Linked DNA regions of Homo sapiens: region 2 is linked to region 1. The links are contacts of gene promoters, found by promoter capture Hi-C in human tissues and cell types (Jung and others, 2019). All regions are on one chromosome and are shown on one strand. Each heading gives the region's core, a stretch centred on a gene start or on the middle of the fragment in contact. The rest is flanking DNA. Distances are from core to core; before and after follow the strand shown. Region 1 overlaps KLC1 (kinesin light chain 1). Region 2 holds the start of MARK3 (microtubule affinity regulating kinase 3).

What was found. The method cuts DNA at HindIII sites, captures the fragments that hold promoters and counts their contacts. A contact is called where the count stands out against the background at its distance.
Region 2: the fragment with the promoter of MARK3 here is called in contact with a fragment that was not itself captured in region 1 in 2 of the 25 tissues and cell types used here (hippocampus and pancreas).

What each region holds. Positions count from the first base shown.
Region 1 is chr14:103,640,924-103,644,022 of GRCh38, forward strand. All of the region lies in intron 1 of KLC1 (kinesin light chain 1), which reads left to right. Among named protein-coding and RNA genes, the nearest start is that of KLC1, 13 kb to the left of the region's middle. The HindIII fragment of the contact is 7,416 bases long and covers 1-3,099 here.
Region 2 is chr14:103,383,932-103,387,030 of GRCh38, forward strand. It overlaps MARK3 (microtubule affinity regulating kinase 3), which reads left to right and starts at 1,484. Exons shown (of 18, transcript NM_001128918.3): 1 at 1,484-2,149. The coding sequence starts at 2,099. RefSeq lists enhancers at 309-1,300, 1,301-2,290, 2,231-2,420 and a silencer at 1,761-1,950. The HindIII fragment of the contact is 8,681 bases long and covers 1-3,099 here.

The DNA.
Region 1 (3,099 bases), core at 316-2,815:
ACTATTATTTTTTTTTTCTTTTGAGACAAAGTTTTGCTAGGTCACCCAGGCTGGAGTGCAGTGGCTCCATGGCTCACTGCAACCTCTGCCTTCTGGGTTCCAGCAATTCTCCTGCCTCAGCCTCCCTAGTAGCTGGAATTACAGGCATGCGCTACTATGCCTGGCTAATTTTTGTACTTTTAGTAGAGATGGGGTTTTGCCATGTTGGCCATGCTGGTCTCGAACTCCTGCCCTTAAGTGATCCACCTGCCTCGGCCTCCCAGTGTTGGGATCACAGGTGTGAGTCACTGTGCCCAGCCTGGTACATTATTATTAACTGAACTCCACTTTATTTGGTATCACTGGTTTTTCCCTTGTCCTTGTTGTACCTCAGGATCCCATCCAAGATACCATATCACATTTAGTCATCATGCCTCCTGCTCTGTGGCTGTTTTCTTAGACTTTCCTTGCATTAGAGGACTGTCTTAGCTTGCGAGGCTGTAACAAAGTACCACAGGCTAGTGACTCACGAACAACACAAGCCACAGTCCTGGAGGCTGGAAGTCTGGGATCAGGGTGCCAGCATGGTCAGATTCTGGTGCAGACCCTCTTTCTGGTTGCATGCTACCGACTTCTAGATGTATTCTCACATGGTGAAAAGAGTGTGAGAGAGTTCCCTTTTTAAAAAAAATTTAATAATAATTATTTTTTTGAGACAGAGTCTGTCTCTGTTGCCCAAGCTGGAGTGCAGTGGCACAATCTTGGCTCACTGCAGCCTCCGCCTCCTGGGTGCACTTCATCCTCCCACCTCCACCTCAGCCTCCCAGGCTCAATTCATCCTCCCAAGTAGCTGGGACTACAGGTGCACACTACAACACCCAGATAATTTTTGTATTTTTTGTAGAGATGGGGTTTTACCATGTTGCCCAGACTGGTCTTGAACACCTGAGCTCAAGCTATCTGCCTGCCTTGGCATCCCAAAGTGTTGGGATTATAGGTATCAGCCACTATACTCTGCCTAGGTTCCCTTTATTTTTTATTTTTTTGAGACAGAGTCTCACTCCATCGCCCAGGCTGGAGTGCAGTGGCATGATCTCAGCTCACTGCAACCTCTGCCTGCTGGGTTCAAGCTATTCTCCTGCCTCAGCCTCCTGAGTAGCTGGGATTACAGGCATGCACCACCATGCCCGGCTAATTTTGTATTTTTAGTAGAGACGGGGTTTCACCATATTGACTAGGCTGGTCTCGAACTCCTGATTTCAGGTGATTCACCCACCTCGGCCTCCCAGAGTGCTGGGATTACAGGCATGAGCCACTGCTCAGCCCCTGGGTTCCCTTTTTTAAAGGCACTAATCCCACCGTGAGGGGTCCCCTCATGGCCTAATCACCTCCCAAAGGCCCCACCTCCTAAAAGCATTACTCTAGGCATTAGAATTTTAACATGTGAATTGGGGTGGGGGGCACACATTGATTCCATTGCAATAACCTTGATAGTTTTGAGACATATGGGCAAGGTATTTTGTACAATGTCCTTAAATTTGGGTTTGTCTTGATATTTTTCCCATGGTTAAGTCAGGGTTATGAGTTTTTAGGAGAAAGACTACTGGCTCCCAGTTTTGGATTCTGATTCCATTGTACCAAAACAAATCAGAACTCTTTGGAGTAATGGGTGATTCTAGGGCTGGGGCAGGGAAAATATAAGATGAGCCTGAAGCTTCTTCTAGTGTTTGAATGTAAGGATATGCTAAAAAACAAAGGGATGGGAACATGAAGAAGGGACACAGGAACCAACTGAAAGAGCTCCCATTGACAAAAGCTGGAACAACTTGAACAATAAAATAAATAATGTAGTTTTTTGGTTTTTTGGTTTTTTTTTTTTTTTTGAGACGGAGTCTCACTCTGTTGCCCAGGCTGGAGTGCAGTGGCGTGATCTCGGCTCACTGCAACCTCCACCTCCCAGGTTCAAGGCAATTCTCCTGTCTCAGCCTCCTGAGTTGCTGGGACAACAGGCGCACACCACCACGCCCGGCTAATTTTTTTGTATTTTTAGTAGAGACGGGGTTTCACCATTTTGGTCAGGTTGGTCTCCAACTCCTGACCTCAGGTAATCCACCCACCATGGCCTCCCAAAGTGTTGGGATTACAGGCATGAGCCTCCATGCCCAGCCAAGAATGTATTTTTAACAATTAGTATTTTACTTATCACCTAAAGTATAAAACAAATATCTGTAAGTCCATATTGATATAAATAATTACATTAATAAATGAGGAAAGAGACAAAGAATAGACTGATCTCCCTTAGAGAAGAATTCCAAATAATGGTAGATTCTTCCATCTTCCAGAGGGTCCTCTATAACTTTCCCCATCTCCTTGGAGTGTGGGCTGCACTTAGTGACTTGCTTCCTAAGAGTATGGAATGGGATGACTGTGTGTGGAGGTGGTGGTGATAATCTTACAGTGGCTAAACCTGCAAATGCTACCTGAGCCAGGTGGTCGAGGCTGATGTATTAGGTGTAAATCATGTTGGCACGTGCCCTTGATAGAATTGTTATGAAAAGATTCAAACCCTGTAAAATATTTGAAAAGATTTATTCTGAGCCAAATATGAGTGACCATGGCCCGTGACACAGCCCTCAGGAAGTCCTGAGAACATGTGCCCAAGGTGGTCGGGGCACAGCTTGGTTTTATACATTTTAGAGAGGCATGAGACATCAATCAGATACATTTAAGAAATACATTGGTTGACCGGGCATGGTGGCTCACGCCTGTAATCCCAACACTTTGGAAGGCCAAGGCAGGCAGATCACTTGAGGTCAAGAGTTCCAGACCAGCCTGGCCAATATGGTGAAACTCCGTCTCTACTAAAAATACAAAAATTAGCCTGGCGTGGTGGTGCATGCCTGTAATCCCAGCTACTCGGGAGGCTGAGTCAGGAGAATCACTTGAGCGCAGAAGGTGGAGGTTGCCTGGCCCGAAGGCATTTGTTTAATTTCCTTTTGCTTCCAATGTGGCTGTTAAGAAACCTAAAGTTGGCTGGGCACGGTGGCTCACGCCTGTAATCCCAGCACTTTGAGAGGCCGAGGCAGGCAGATCACGAGGTCAGGAGATCGAGACCATCCT
Region 2 (3,099 bases), core at 234-2,733, 260 kb before region 1:
TAAAAATACAAAAAAAATTAGCCAGGCATGGTGGTGGGCACCTGCAGTCCCAGCTACTCGGGAGGCTGAGGCAGGAGAATGGCGTGAACCCGGGAGGTGGAGCTTGCAGTGAGTGGAGATCGCGCCACTGCACTCCAGCCTGGGCGACAGAGCGAAACTCCGTCCCAAAACAACAACAACAACAACAACAACAACAAACATATATTTCGTGGAGCAAGAAATGTCTCAAACATAGCAAGAGAGTTGGGATGCCAACGGACCAAAGGGAAAGCAAGCATGACATAGCCCCCCACTACAAGGGCTTACCTATTATCCAAGCTTTGGGAGCTAGGTTAGAATCCCAGCTCTGTCGCTAACCAACCTGTGTACTTTAGCCAAGTCACTGTACCTGTCTAGACTTCGGATCGCATGTGTGTCTGCCCATCTCATAGGGTTACCCTGAGGCTAAATGAGGTAACAAATGTCATGAACCCACAAGGTAGACTCGACTCTCGGTAACAGTTCGTGTCACCCCCATCTCACACTACTCTCCCTCTTCGGACCCTGCACCCATGGATTCCATCCACCGCTGGCCAGGAGCTGAGTAGAGGCACCGAGCACGTGAAGAGGTGAATGGGCAAGGAAGGCTTCCAGGTCAGGTAGCATTTCCAGTGTTCCAGCCTGCAGGCATCTACCGAGCCTGGCCCGAGGCTGGCACCCAGAGATGCTTCCAGTCTTCCAGCAGCAACGCACTGACTGTAAGAAAAGCCTGCTTATAAACCCCCTACAGGCATTTGGAAGCTGGTCCCTGGGGTCCTCTACAGATTCATTTCGCCCCCAAACCCATCCCCTTTGTGCCACCCTCGTTATTGCACTCTTCCATCCGGATGGCATTTAGCTGGGTCCGGGTCTGTCACCCGTCTGACCACCAGCTCCTTGAGGGCAAGAGGCGCCTGCTGCCCTCAGGGTCCGCGCCCAGCCCGCAGCTGCTCAGATCCGGAGACGGGAAGGTTTGTTGGCGAGAACCTGACTCCCGGGTCACAGTTAAGGATGCAAGAGCCCGGCGCCTTCCCGTAGCCCCGGCCCTGTCATTAATTAATGCTGGGGCTCCATTCGGTGCAGCGCAGTCCCAGGGATGCAACCGCAACTTTTGCGCACAATAGGCTCTCGATCTGTAATCCAGCCAACCCAGGCCTGTAGTGTGTAAATGCCAACTCAGCGGGAGGGCTCTGGCTGTCGCCCAGAGCCGTTTCTCGGCTCTTTCGCGGTTGCCGGCGCGCTCGGGACAGGAGGAACCCGCAGCCCGCGGGAGTCAGCGGAGACCCGACCAGCACTATCCAGCCCTCTGCACCGCCCCCGCGGCGAGGTCTGGACCAAGTCGCCCCTAGCAACAACAGCCGGGCCGGCTTTCTCAGGCCATGCTGATTGGCGGGACTCCGGGTGGCGGCCTGTCGTCACTTCCGGCAGCCGGAGGCAGCAGAGGAAGCCGAGGGGCGGCCATCTTGGCTCCGTGAGGCTCTGAGGTGCCGGGGTGCGGCGGCGGCAGCGGCGGCCAGCAGGGCGGAGGCTGAGGCAGCAAGCTCGCTAGAGAGGGAGAAGCAGTCGGGCGCAGGCGCCTCCTCCGCAGCCCGCTCCATGGTCGGCGCCCACAGCCCGCGGCGGCCTGTCTTGCGCTCCACTTCCTTCACATCCTCCTCCGCCTCCTCGTTTTCAGGCGCCGCCGGCGGCGCTGTGTGGAGGCCCGCGAGCTGAAATTCGCGGTGCGACGGGAGGGAGTGGAGAAGGAGGTGAGGGGGCCCAGGATCGCGGGGCGCCCTGAGGCAAGGGGACGCCGGCGGGCCGAAGCGCAGCCCGCCGCCCGCAGGCTCGGCTCCGCCACTGCCGCCCTCCCGGTCTCCTCGCCTCGGCCGCCGAGGCAGGGAGAGAATGAGCCCCGGGACCCGCCGGGGGACGGCCCGGGCCAGGCCCGGGATCTAGACGGCCGTAGGGGGAAGGGAGCCGCCCTCCCCACGGCGCCTTTTCGGAACTGCCGTGGACTCGAGGACGCTGGTCGCCGGCCTCCTAGGGCTGTGCTGTTTTGTTTTGACCCTCGCATTGTGCAGAATTAAAGTGCAGTAAAATGTCCACTAGGACCCCATTGCCAACGGTGAATGAACGAGACACTGAAAACGTAAGTAACCTGGGCGTTGTAGTTGGCGGACCTTCGGGGTGGCATTCGTGCTCCTCGGGCAGTGCCTTGCAGTCGGGTGTTCCCCCCAGCCGAACGCTCTGGAAATAGAGGGCAGGCCGTAGTCACCCAGGAGGCAGCCAGGTCGGACCGTTTCCTCCAGAAGTCTGCCGTGTCCCGCTGTTCGCGGGCGGGTCTGCGAAGTACATCGATTATGCCGGCAGTCTAGTCGGTTAATAAAGCCCAGGAGTTGCAGCGTTACGGATCGGTGCTTTGAGAGGCCAGGTTGCCGCGCAATGGATTGTGCAAACGTGTGTGTCAGATCACTGCAGTGGTCAGTGCTTATTTTAGCCGAACTCTGCTTTTAACTTGGTCAGGCAGTTCTTGAGAGACTGTCACATTAATAACATATGTTACCGGTGCTGATTAAGAGTAATCGATTGGGTCAAGTGGGCGGTCTCGTTCTTTAAGATGGTCTGGAACTAAATTTAATCACAGTCACTAAGTGTCCACTGAGGGATCTTTGCGGTCCCCTTAGGAATTCCAAAACACTAGCGCGCAGCCTTTATTAAGGCAGTTTCCTTTCCATACAAATCTTTTTTGAAGGAGTTGGTTAAACATTTTGAAAAGCAGATGTATAGTGAAGCTCTGCTCTGCCACTCACTGCCTAGCTGAGGGACACCCGCTGGGGGCTTCGCTGTCCTCCTTCCTAAAAAGAGATTGGCTTAGATGAGCTCTTAGGTCCCTTTCAGCGCTCACAGGCTATGGTTTTATAAAAGGAACCTTTGATTTTGTTCATGTGAAACTACAAAATGCCAGGAACAGCATTGCTAGAGAATGAGAACTTGTAGTAGAAATTCCATTGAAGAAACGTTTGACTCTGTTCGTTTTCTAACTCTGTTCTCCTCTAACACTGGGTTCAAAAGTGTTTCAATCTAGTTGTTGACTATATT